Linked DNA regions of Homo sapiens: region 1 is linked to region 2. The links are contacts of gene promoters, found by promoter capture Hi-C in blood cells and fetal thymus (Javierre and others, 2016). All regions are on one chromosome and are shown on one strand. Each heading gives the region's core, a stretch centred on a gene start or on the middle of the fragment in contact. The rest is flanking DNA. Distances are from core to core; before and after follow the strand shown. Region 1 overlaps SF3A1 (splicing factor 3a subunit 1). Region 2 holds the start of CASTOR1 (cytosolic arginine sensor for mTORC1 subunit 1).

The links. Contacts are between HindIII fragments. The CHiCAGO score rates a contact against its expected background, and 5 or more counts as called.
Region 1: a fragment that was not itself captured here is called in contact with the fragment with the promoter of CASTOR1 in region 2 in 5 of 17 cell types (naive CD4 T cells, total CD8 T cells, naive CD8 T cells and 2 more); the score reaches 7.3 in naive CD4 T cells.

Annotation. Positions count from the first base shown.
Region 1 is chr22:30,330,013-30,336,341 of GRCh38, forward strand. SF3A1 (splicing factor 3a subunit 1) reads right to left here. Exons shown (of 16, transcript NM_005877.6): 14 at 5,640-5,741; 15 at 5,455-5,526; 16 at 1,976-4,683. The coding sequence ends at 4,582. Among named protein-coding and RNA genes, the nearest start is that of TBC1D10A, 6.2 kb to the left of the region's middle. The HindIII fragment of the contact is 5,900 bases long and covers 1-5,578 here.
Region 2 is chr22:30,286,424-30,292,428 of GRCh38, forward strand. It overlaps CASTOR1 (cytosolic arginine sensor for mTORC1 subunit 1), which reads right to left and starts at 3,082. Exons shown (of 9, transcript NM_001037666.3): 1 at 2,962-3,082; 2 at 2,283-2,353; 3 at 950-1,137; 4 at 732-864; 5 at 402-525. The coding sequence starts at 3,074. TBC1D10A (TBC1 domain family member 10A) reads right to left here. Exons shown (of 9, transcript NM_031937.3): 9 at 5,567-6,005. The coding sequence ends at 5,952. RefSeq lists silencers at 2,740-2,819, 3,020-3,459 and an enhancer at 4,340-4,399. The HindIII fragment of the contact is 5,917 bases long and covers 1,497-6,005 here.

The DNA of each region.
Region 1 (6,329 bases), core at 1,379-3,878, 43 kb after region 2:
TAATACACCTATAATGAGCCAGACATTAGTGCAGGGGTGTCCAACCTTTCGGCTTCCCTGGGCCACACCGGAAGAAGAATTGTCTTAGGCCATACATAAAATACACTAACGATATAGCTGATGAGTTAAAAAACATTGCAAAAAAAAATCTCATAATGTTTTAAGGAAGTTTACAAATTTGGGGCCGGGCGCGGCTCATGCCTATAATCCCAGCACTTTGGGAGGCCGAGGAGGGCGGATCATGAGGTCAGGAGATCGAGACCATCCTGGCTAACACGGTGAAACCCCGTCTCTACTAAAAATACAAAAAATTAGCCGGGCGTGGTGGCAGGAGCCTGTAGTCCCAGCTACTCGGGAGGCTGAGGCAGGAGAATGGCGTGAACCCGGGAGGTGGAGCTTGCAGTGAGCCGAGATGGCGCCACTGCACTCCAGCCTGGGCGAAAGAGCAAGACTCTGTCTAAAAAAAAAAAAGAGAAAGTTTACAAATTTGTGTTGGGCCACATTCAAAGCTCTCCTGGGCCATGGGTTGGACGAGCTTGCTCTAGTGAATAAGAGAGATGAAGTCCTGGCCCAATAGAGTTTATAGTCCAGTGGAGGAGGGACAACATGAACAAGCACAGAACATCTATCAGGTAGTGAGAATAAGAAAATAAAGCCAGGTAAGGTATGGAGAATGCTGGAGTAGGTGTTGGGGAGGTGGTATGGGCTGAAAATGAGGGACCCCTTCTGCAGGACTGAGAATAGTGTACAAGCATGGCAGCAGATGATTTTCCCCTTGAAGGAGAAGGAGGCTGTGTTGTTAGATTGGAGTGAGAAAGCAAGGGCAACAGTGAACCAATGAATAAATGATCAGAAAGGAGCCCTGCAGAATCACGTGGTTCACTGGAATAAAGAATTTAAGAGGCCTTAGGCAATGCTGTGGAACATCCTGGTGAACTGGCTGTTGGAGACATTCTTTTGAAGATAGAATGTGTTGATATCCCAGAGTCTCATCCTGCTGGGGTCATTCCCAACAGCTGGGCTTGAGGATCTCACATAGGCCCCTCTCCTGGATCCTGGAATGTGCAGTTGGCATGTGCTCAGGAAACCTGTGAGCACTGGCCATGAGCAAAAGTCCAGATGCCCTTTTTTTTTTTTTTTTTTTTTTTGAGACGGAGTCTTGCTCTGTTGCCCAGGCTGGAGTGCAGTGGTGTGATCCTGGCTCACTGCAACCTCCACCTCCCGGGTTCAAGAGATTCTCCTGCCTCAGCCTCCCAAGTAGCTGGGATTACAGGCACCTGCCACCTGTTATAACAGTATTCTCTGTAATGATCTATTTTAATTTTAATTTAAAAAAACTTTTTTAGAGATGAGTTCTCACTATGTTGTCTAAGCTGACTTTGAACTTCCTGGCTCAAGCAATCCTCTTACCTCAACCTCCCAAGCAGCTGGAACTACAGGTGTGTCACTGTGCCTGGCAGGAGTTTATCTTGTCCTGCTTCATGGACTGTAGTGTCCAGGGGTACCTAGAATTGTTCACTTACATGCTGGGAGCAGTGTCAGGGCATGGTGTCAGGGAACTCACCAGGCAGTGTTCTTTTATATAACAATGCAGCCTTTTTTTTTTTTTTTAGACAGAGTTTCAATCTTGTTGCCCAGGCTGGAGTGCAATGGTGCTATCTCAGCTCACCACAACCTCCACCTCCTGGGTTCAAGCGATCCTCCTGCCTCAGCCTCCCAAGTAGCTGGGATTACAGGCATGTGCCACCATGCCCGGCTAATTTTGTATTTTTAGTAGAGACAGGGTTTCTCCATGTTGGTCAGGCTGGTCTTGAACTCGCGACCTCAGGTGATCCGCCCGCCTCGGCCTCCCAAAGTGCTGGGATTACAGGTGTGAGCCACTACACCTGGCAACAATGCAGAATTAAAAAAATGTAACAATACAGAATAGTTAACAGCAAATCTCCATATCTGGTAGAGTTAATGATCATAACTCTTAAGATCTTACATTTTGCTTTTATTTTTAAAAAGTAAACTTCTAAAAATCTTATACACTGGTATGTGTACCCATGAGTAGAGCTATATTATGCTTTCTTGTCTAATTACAGGGATAAATGAAATATGATTGCTAATAGTACATGTATTTCCATTCAAGTATATATCCTAACATAACCCAATATAACCATTTAATATATTCTCTAATACAATATTATTAATTTTAAAGTAAAATGGTTCTGATCATTACTGGCCTCCTCTAAGAGTACATGACAAGTACTTAAGTAGTGGGTAGAACTGAAAGTGAAATTCCTTAATGTCTACAATTCCTGGAGCCCTCTGCATGCAAGTCTTCAAAATTATGGTGACTTAAGTCCCACACCACCTGTTTTCCCAGCAGTCCTGCAACAGGAGCACTTATTCCTATTTCATAGTGTGGTCTGGTGGAGCAGAGCAGTGTGGTCCCCAGGAAGGGATGAGCTGCTTTGGCTTTCCAGAGCACTCACTGGCTACATGACCTTGGGTATTCCACCTCGTTTTAAAAATGGGGCAGATAATCCTCAGGAGATTGCAAGAAGAATCAGAAAAGCTGTGCAGAGCAGCTTTGTATTATAAACACTAGGACGCTACCTACATGCTGCAGGTCCTAAACTAGTGCAGTGCCAAGCAGCACACTGGGCCTGTGGCCACTGATGTTCACAAGGCCTCATGGTCAATGGAGCTTCTGCATCTGAGCGAGCCAGTACAGATATTCATTCAGGAGCTCCAGGAAACTGGATTTGCTCTCTAGAGGGCAGCTCAAAGGGCCCATTCACTCACAATCCACCCAACGGCATTCCTGGCCTCCGGTCACAGCCTCAGCCACGGAAGTCCTGCAGGGTTTGCCAGTCTGTGGGGGTGAGTGCCCTAACACCATGAACTGCCCACTGCTCCCAGAAAGAAAGAAGAACTTGGAATATGAGACTCCCCAGGTCTCCTGACCCTCTTCCTTCTTGGAATGAGACCCAGGTAGTGCTCAGGGGATTTCTGGTGTTGGCCATGGACAAGCAACCAGTAGTGGGCTCACTTTAGGGACGCAAACCACAAAGCCCACCTCAGGAAGCCAAATTTCAACTCTTGCCCCTGGGGCAAACTTCTAGCAACCAGGCCAGAGGCAAATGTCAGACAGGATAAGGGATGACATCCCATCAATCAAGTTGAAAATGGGAGGGACCCAGCAGTTTGTAATAAAGCCATAAAACTGGTACTGACTCTGGGTGAGAGGGAGAGGCAGGGTGGTGACTAGAGAGCTGGTTCTGTGACCTTGGGAAATGGTCTCACCCCTCTGAGCCCTGGAGATGACCTGATGGGGCAGCTAGGAGGTCCAAATGGAAGGACTGCAAATAAAAGGCACTGGGAACTCTCAGGGGCCACACACATGTGAGATCTTCCCAATAAAATCAGCCTTAGCTTTAAAACCAGGAAATTGTTAGCAACAGGCTCTCACCTTCCTCCAACACCCACAGCATTGCCTATCTCCCTGTGATAGCTTGATTCTAAAGATAACAGCCTGCCTTTACTCAGAAACCAGGACTGTGACGTGTTTTGCACACATTCTCTTTTCACTTTCACAGTGTGTGACTATGGCATGCAACTTATGTTCTCTGTGCCTCAGTTTACTCAAGTGTTAAACAGGAATACTCACATGAGGATTACATGAGTTAAAATGGATAAAATGGATAAAAGTAGAGAGTAAATTATTTAAACTTTATCAAATCCTTGGTACATGACCTTAATACAATTAAGTATTTGTTAAATACATACATTTTAAAGAAACGTCATCATATCCACACACCTATGAGGCACCTGCCCAGGACCACAGAGCCAATCAATCAGGTGATGAGTGATTCCAGGCCAGCAGGAAACCACCGCCCACTGACACAGGGACTGCACCATCCATCCTTGGTTTGCATGGTGCCTGCCATGCTTCCTGTATTACTGTTAAATACATGGGGCAGGCCTTTGGAGGATCCCAATGTTTTAAAAGGGCAATACGAATATGATTCTAATACATAAAAAGTATGAGGGCAGCAAGAATTTAGTTACAAAACCCAAAAATCCTCAAAGAGAAGCCACATAGCACTGTGCAGTGTTACCACTGCCTCGAGTCTGGACAGGGCACAGGTGACCGAGACAAGTCTTATTTAACTGATTTCACAAGAAGGGTCCGAGTTTTATTAGACAACCCATGTCAAGGTACAAAATGATTAATGACAATATCAGCCATATTCTATTAGCCAAGTGCCACCTGTCACTATGAAACTATCCTGTAGGACATCCCTGGGCTCTCAGTTGCTAATGGGCTGCTGAAGAAATGAATGTCCTCAAATCGAGACCCTAACACAAAGAGATTCCAGAGAGTGGCTTAGAAAACCCAGCTACTCTTACCAATGTGGGGAAAGGGTCAGGGGAATGAACCTCTGCAGGACAATTTGAATTCCCAAACTGAGTAAGAGCGAAACAAATATGCAGGCAAGGCAAAGCCTCAGGGGGGCTCCTGGGTCTGGGGCAGGGGGTGGGAGACAGGAGAGGCAAAATGGCAGGGACTTGACAGCAGGTTCCTCTTGTCTACTTCTTCCTCCCGCCTCTCTCCTTGAGGGCCAGGTGGATGACTGCGCCATTGGCCATGTTGTAGTAAGCCAGTGAGTTGGAATCTTTGATGAAGATACCCTGGAAAACAGACAGCGTGCCTTAGCATGGGGCAACCCAGCCTTGGGGATACCGCTGCAACCTTACAACTGTGCACTTGGTCTGTTTGCGCTCTGGACTTAGCAAATACAGGAGCTTGTGAGAAGGTAGGGTGTTGGGGACTGGAGGCCTCTCATTCCTCCCACTGTTTCCTTTCTTCCCACCAATTACGCTCCTCCCCTTTGTCAACATTTGACTCAAAAGCTCAACTCCCCAAAAAGTTGGCCCCTCACCAACTCCATGGAGCTCTGACTCTGAAATCACAAGACCTTTAGGGATCACTTAGCCCAACAGCCTCAATGGATAGAGATAACTGAGGCCCAGAGCAGGGATTTGTTCAAGTTCAGAGAAGAAGAACATTAATGCCTCCATGTGACCTGGCATCAGGCGGGGCTAGACTATCACCTCCAAGTCAGGCTGCCTGAGGTCATACTGGCAGGGATGGCCCAACCACTGGATCAGGAACCCACCAGAGCATGCCTAAGTCTTGTCACTAAATCTCTATGCCCAGTCATTGAGGCAAAGAATCTTACAGATCCCACACAAGACTCTACTGTGACCCCACCAGAGCCTTGCATTGTTGGGCACACCTGCCCCAACACTCCCAGCCAGCATCATGACTTCTAGGATGGATTCAGATGGCCACACCCAGATATCACTCCACTCCCCTTTTAGCTTCCATGACAGATTTAGCTTCTGTGAAAGCAGAGGTGTCAGGACCCAAGGGACAGGTCTGTGGACAAACTGACTCACCTCATACTGTAGCTTCTGTTTCCCTGCAGGCATGCCTGTGGCTTCATGAATCTTCACCTTAATGACAGAGACCTGTGGGATCAAGCAGCGGTCATTCAACTCCTTGGTAAGGCCAGCTAGAGGAAGCTTTCCCCTGAATGCTTGGTTCCCATGCACCTGATGCCAGTTTCTGGCAGTACCCATACCTGGTCCGTGAGTGGGAGGGTGAAGACCAGCACCTGCCCATTCAGTTTCCATTCCGTCTTATCCTGCATGTTGGGCACCTGGACTTTGATGGACACTGGACCCTACAAAACAGGAGGTGGTCATTATGCCTAGGGAGCTCGGAGCCAATCAAGAACTATGCTCTGCTATCCCTAGGCCTGTCCAGACAATGTCACCTGTGCATCTGGGCTCCTGGATTCTGGCCTGATTCACCACTGATAACCCCTTGTGAGGTTGTACAAGTCACCCCCCTTTGCAAGATTAGGTTTCTTTTCTTTAAAACAATCTCTATCTTGTCTCTTGGTGAGTCTGGAGCTAAACTGAAGAACTTTAGTGAAAATACTCTGCACACCCCAAGGGAAAAGAATATGACCTGCAGGGTCGGAAGACCTGGATTCCCAACTCAGCTTCCCAGCTAACAAGGTTTGTCTGAGCCTCAATGTCATTATCCACCAGACAGGGTTCATGACTGTTTTGAGTATTGAGGGGAAGTGTCTGTAAAGTGCTTAGCTCTATCCTGGTACTTAAGCGTTTAAGAAATGGGAACTATTATTAAAAAACAAACAGAGCGGGTGCAGTGGCTCACACCTGTAATCCCAGCACTTTGGGAGGCCAGCGTGGTGGATCACTTACGGCCAGGAGTTCAAGACAAGCCTGGCCAACGTGGCGAA
Region 2 (6,005 bases), core at 1,832-4,331:
CTGCCCCTGCTCCCGATCAGCCTCCAGAACCCTGGGAAGGAGCTGGTATGGTGGCCTGGGCAGGCTCTGCCATATCTGCTACCCGCCCAAGGGTCCAGCCCTCTGGAAGGTGTGGGTGGGGATGGGGGAGGACAATGAACCCAGCCTGTGCCAAAAACAAAGGATTCCACGGTGAGAGGGCCAGACCAGGGCATGGCTCAGACGACCCCACTGGAAAGGGATCCAGCTTTGGGGCAAGAACCTTCCCCGAACATCAGTGAAGCACAAGTGAGCATCATGGGCTGCCAGGAACCCCAAGAGAGGACAAGCAAGAGGTGCAAAACTGATAGATGGGCGGAAAGTGGTGGGACAGAGTGTAGGGAACAGTGCTGTGAGGACAAAGACGAAGTTCCAAGGTCCACCTGTGCGAGTAGAAGAGGACATCTATGAGGGTGGTGGCGATGGCTGGAAGCGTCTCAGGGTCCAGTGTGAGGACACAGAAGCGGTTCTGTGGGCTCTGGATGGGATGCACCGTGGGGCTGGGCCCTGCTGGAGGACAGCAGCAGGTGAAAAGGTGTCCGTGGGCTGGGGCGCCCCCTGGTGGCTAGTCAGGGAGAGGCGTGGGCCAGGGGCAGGTCTTGCTATCCAGGAACTGGCCGGGGTCCTCCTGCCCCACTGGGGCCCAAAAGGGAAGGGACCCAGTGGGAAGAGGAGGCCCTGCCCAAGTCCAAGTGTCAGGGGGCGGCCCTCACCATGCTGAGTGCGGGGAAAGCCATTGCTGGAATCATCCCTCGTCACAGGCACAGGCTCTCCGCCCACCTCGCGGTAAATGTCGAACTCCTGGGCCAGCGTGTGGATCACCACGGACAGGTCCTGCTCCCGCACCTGGGCCACAGCAGATGGCACATCACATGGGCTCCCAGGTACCTATATCCACCCTGCTCTGCATCAGCACCAGCAGGAAACTCACCAGGATGAAGTCCGTCTGGTAAGTGGACAGCATCAGCACAGACACGTGGTGCTCGGCCAGTGGCGCGATGACCGAACGGGCGATCTTGGTGACCCCAGCAGCCTGCACTGCCGCACCGCTGTGAGACGACACGTTCAGCACCAGCCATGTGGCCTCAGCTACTTGCAGGAACTCAGATGGGGGCAGCTCTGTGGGCAGGGGACATGTCAGGTCAGGGTCTACAAGGCTGGCCCCTGCCCCTCTCTGAGCCTCAGTTTCCCTTTCTGTGCCTTGGAGGGCTCCATCAAGGTAAGGGCAGGTCTGGAGGCTGGGGCTCCTGAAGTCCCTATGTGTGCAAAGACTGAGAAAGGCTTCAAGTGCTGGCCTGGTGGCATTGAAACTTCCCACTTAAGATCAGAGGTCCAGATTCAGACAGACCTGGGTTCAAATCCCAGCTTTGTTAATTTGTCTTATGACCTGGGGTGGGTGATTTGAGTCTCAGTTTCCTCATCTGTAAAATGGGACGACAATATCTACCTCACTACGGTGTCTTCTGTGGGTTAGCAGAAGCTTTGTACCACATGGCACCACCAGGGGGCATTCGCAGATCAGGTTGGCTGGGGGATTGCCTTCCCCTTTTGCAGACCCAGACTTCTGAAGTAAAAACAGGGAAACTAAGGCCTGCAGTGGAGCATGGGGACAGGCTAAGCTCCAGCTAGCTGGCCTGAGACTCCAAGCCTGTGAGGATGGGCAGGGCCAGCAGCAGGAGGAGGAGCTAGGCGTCAGCTCCAGGCCCCAGGGAGGGCCCAGGCTGGCGTCCAGTCCTGAGCTGGGGCCAGGGCCTGGGTGGCTGCTATTCACCCCAGCACAGCCAGGAGGCCTCCAGGACCCTCCCCTGAGATGGCTGCCTGCTCCTGCATTCCTTCCCTCAGACTCCTGGAGTTTCCAGACCAGCAGGGGAGGAGGTGACCCAAACCAGAGAGTAAGACCAGGAGGAAATAATACCCAGGGATTTCTAACAGCAGCACTTGACTGGAATCATAACAGAGGCCCTTCTGCAGGCCTAAGACTGCTGAGTGCCCCTCAGCGGTTTTAAGTTTATAAAGGCCTCATGGGACCCTATGTATCAGAACCATAACTATACCCATTTTACATAAGAGAAAACAGCTCAGAGAGGGAAAGTGATTTGCTCAAGGGCACACAGCCAGGGAGTGGTGGAGTAGGATTCGAACCCCGACCCATCTGCTTTTAAGGCTTAAGCTCTTGGGACGGATCCCAGCAACTGGTGAGAACCCTACAGAAGGGGAGCACGACAAGCCCCTCCCGTACTCCCGTTCCCCAGACCAACCCCCACCTTTAAAGCCCTCCTCGTCCACCATAAGCGTGTAATCCTCAGGGGTCTCCGTCAGGCTGAAGAACTTGCACCTGGTTGGGGGTGGGGAGCATCTTCAGCTTGGTGTGGAGAACTAGGGGTCGGGAGTGGATTTCTCTCCATCTGCCCCGAGACACCCCCGCGACCCTGGGCCGGGCGCCTTCTTGCCCTCTCGGCCTTTAATTTCCAGGCCAATGGGATGTTAGCCCCATCTCGGGGGTTGGGGGCTACTTTCCGGCCTCCCGACCTCTCCAGGAACCCTCCACCCCTCCACTCCTGGAGGGAGGAGAGGTTCACACCCGCGGCGACAGCCCCAGGGGCGTCGGACCTTGGACCCCCTAGTCCAGCCCCTCTGACATGAAGGGAGGCGTCCTGGAAGGAGCTCCCCGCAGTGACCAGGTAGGAATGCCCCCATTTGACACTACTGAGTTAAGCATTGCCCATCCCAGGCTGTTTGCGCTTTGCCCCTGGGAGGGGGCCTCACGGGGCCGGATAGGCGGCGGTCCCCCAGGCCGGATGGCGGCCGGACGGGGAGAGTCCTCCCCACCCGCTCCCGCCCGCCTGCCTGCCTGCCTTACGGCGATCCTAATCCTCCGACCCTGGCCCGGAGCGAGAGCAGAGCCCCCAGCCCCTATCTGCGCTCCCGAACCCGGGCGCGCACCGGCTGCGGCGGGGCAGGAAGAGCAGCTTGATGAGCGGGTGGGTGTAGAGCCAGAGACCGGGACGGGCGACGCTCAGCACCCGCACCCGGTGTTCTAGGATGTGCAGCTCCATCGCGGCTCGCGCGGACCCGACCCCGCCGCCAACTAGACCCAGGCCGCACGGGAGGCGGGGCGGCGGGGGTGGTGCCCGAGCCTTAAAGGAGCCGCTGCGCTGCCGCGTCCACGCCGCCCGCTGCGAGGCTGACCCGCCCAGCCAGGCGCGGCGTCCGGCTCCTTGACGGCCACGCCCCGCGGGAAGAGAAGCCTATTGGGTGGTCACGCCTCCTCCTAACGCCAGAACCTCATCCCGCTTTCCAGCCAGCCCACCGAGACCGCCCCGAACGGCTCCGCCTTTTTTAGTACTGGCTCGGGGATAGACCCCACCCCGTCTGACTCCTCCAGGCCCCGCCCCTGACGCGCCCCCTCCCTGGGCTCCGCCCTTTCCGCGGAAAGCCAGCTGCGCAGCCGGTGGGAGCATCCCGGAGGGGACGTTTCTGTCCTTCTGGCACACACGTGGGTTTCATGATTGAAGTCCTTGAGACAGAAGGGACACGAAACAAACTGGAGCTCGGCTAGGACCAGAACGCTGCCCCCAAATCCCCGGAGCAATGAGAGGCACAGGTCTGCTGTGCAGCGCTGTCCCCCGGGCGCCTTTCGCTCTCCTGCCTCTCATGGCTGCAGGGGGCAGGGCCGCCAACACAGGATTGCGATTGATACCTACCCTTCCCCGCTTGCGAGGGGGCTGACAAATTGAAACCTGGCCTGGTAGCCCCACTTGTTCCTTTCATCCAACTTTCAAAATAGAAGGCTCCTCACCAGGGGCACACAGAGGTAGAATCCTAGCCACCTCTGCCTGAGCGACATACTTTGGGTTAGGGGGCTGCAGGTGGCCAAGGCCTAAGGCTTGAGGTCCCTCGATACCAACAAAACCCGGAAGTGCTTGAGCCAGTAATGCCCAGTGCTCAGACTTTGGTGGGGGAGGCCCTTGCAGCTGAGGTTCAGTGAGTACTCAGACCTCAAGCCTGAAACTTGAGCCCCAAAGCCTGCAGCCCTTAGCTAGCCTGTGCACATCTAAACTTGCTTCAGGTTCAAGGAGGCCCCCGGCACTGGCAGACACCCCAGATCTTATCAGGCCTTCACAGGTCTAAGACCCCCCCAAGGCTAAGCAGGCATCAGCATGTCCATGTTGGCTCCATGCAGGGCTGAGAATGCTCCAGGGGACCCTTGCCTGGCCTGAGCACCCTGAGGCCTCAGATGTGAGGCTTTGAACCAAGTAGACTAAAGCAGGCCTCAGGCCTGATTGGGACCCAGCAGGCCTAAGCAGGCCCTCTGCCTGCTCTGGAGCCCCCACCATAGGCAGATGGAAGCCAAGCTAAGCCTCCTCCCTGGACTCTCGGGCTTGACACATTCCTGTGAAACACTATGTAGCCACCACATCCTGGCCTATCCCCTGGAGGACTAGGGGAAGGAGGAGCTTCTCAAAGGCTGAGCCCATCTCATCAATGGCAGGTGCAGACAGAGTGGGAAACCATGGGGCTGAGGGGAAGGAGGCAGGAAGTGGAGTGGCCTACCCTGATAGTCTCTTGAAACCCTTCACCTCCCTAGGCCTCAGTATCCCCAGCTGTACCAGGACAGGATGTTCCAGGCCCAGGCGAAGGCTGAAAGCTCCCAGGGAGGCTCTGCTCCTCCCTCTCCTGCCCCCTCCCGCTATGGCCTGGCCTGGCCCAGCTTGGTCATCTGCCAGGAATAGCGCTATTGTTTGACTGGAAAAGCTGCTTCCTCAGCAGAAGGGGGGCCTCTCCCAGGGACACCCTGTCCTTGCCCTCACCAGTCATCAGGTTGTGACCGCAGTGCCTGCCTGGGCCCTCAAGGGCAGAGTCAGGTCTCCTGGAGCCCTGGTCAGGAGAGGAAGCTGAGTGAGGGGCTCTTGGTGCAAATCCGGCTGAGGCTTTCCCATTCAGCTCCTGTTTCCTCGTCTGTTAAATGGGGCTAATGGAGCCTACTTGACCAGTCCAGCCTGGCACTTGGCAGTAAATCGAAGGCGGCATTTTATCAAAGAACCACAATTCGCCCCCCTCCCTGAGGGCCTGGGCTGAGCCTGTGAGGACATTCGTGGTGCTCCACTCCGGGCCCCGTCCCTGACCCCAACCCAGAATCAGCTCTCAGAAACTTACTGGAGCCTGAGGTAGCATCCAGGCCAGGACTTGAAGGAGGAAGACCCTGAAACCTCCTCCTTAGGAGTCCCTGCCCCCTTGGTGGGTGGGTGAGGACCAAGGCCTAGGGAGCACGCCCTGCTCTGCCCAGCACTGAGCTCCAGCCCTGGTGTCCCTCATCTGTGGCAGAAGGTAGACATAAGGCAGTGGGGATGGGGTGAGTGAAAATGGGGGTTAAGAATGGGGGCTGACCAGGGACTTGGCATGTCCTCTGGCAAAGGTACCTCTCAGAGAGGCTCTGGTGCTGGGCTGGGGCCCAGGAGAAGGGGCTCTGTAGGGCAAAGAGAAGAGATGCTGAGCACCAAGGTGACCAAGGTGGTACCCCCTTCCCAGCCCCTAGCTGTACACGAGCTCTCTATACAAGGCTGTTTATTTCTGTACAAAACCATGTTTCTATTTTACACAAAGAACACCCCACCCTTTCCCCTCACACCAGCACCCTAACCCTGGGGAGCATCCCCCAGGAGGAGGGGGCTGAAGGAGGCCCCACCCCCCAGGCCCTAGCTTCTGCCTGCCCTGGCTGGGCCAGCCTGAGTGCCACTGTAAAGAAAATAAATAAGGAGGCTCAGGCAGAATCTGTGTTGGACCAGGCAGAATCTGTGTTGGACCAGCCAGACTCCAGCCCAGCCCAGTGGCCAGGCAGCTTGGCCCTCAGAGGGTGGGCAGGATGTGGAATGTCAGTTCATGAACCGTGTAGTTATATGGAGACCCCGCCCTGGAGGCCTTAGCTGCCAGGGTTACAAGTAGGTGTCCTCACTCTCTTGGGACGTCAAGCTCTCCTGGGAGCGGTG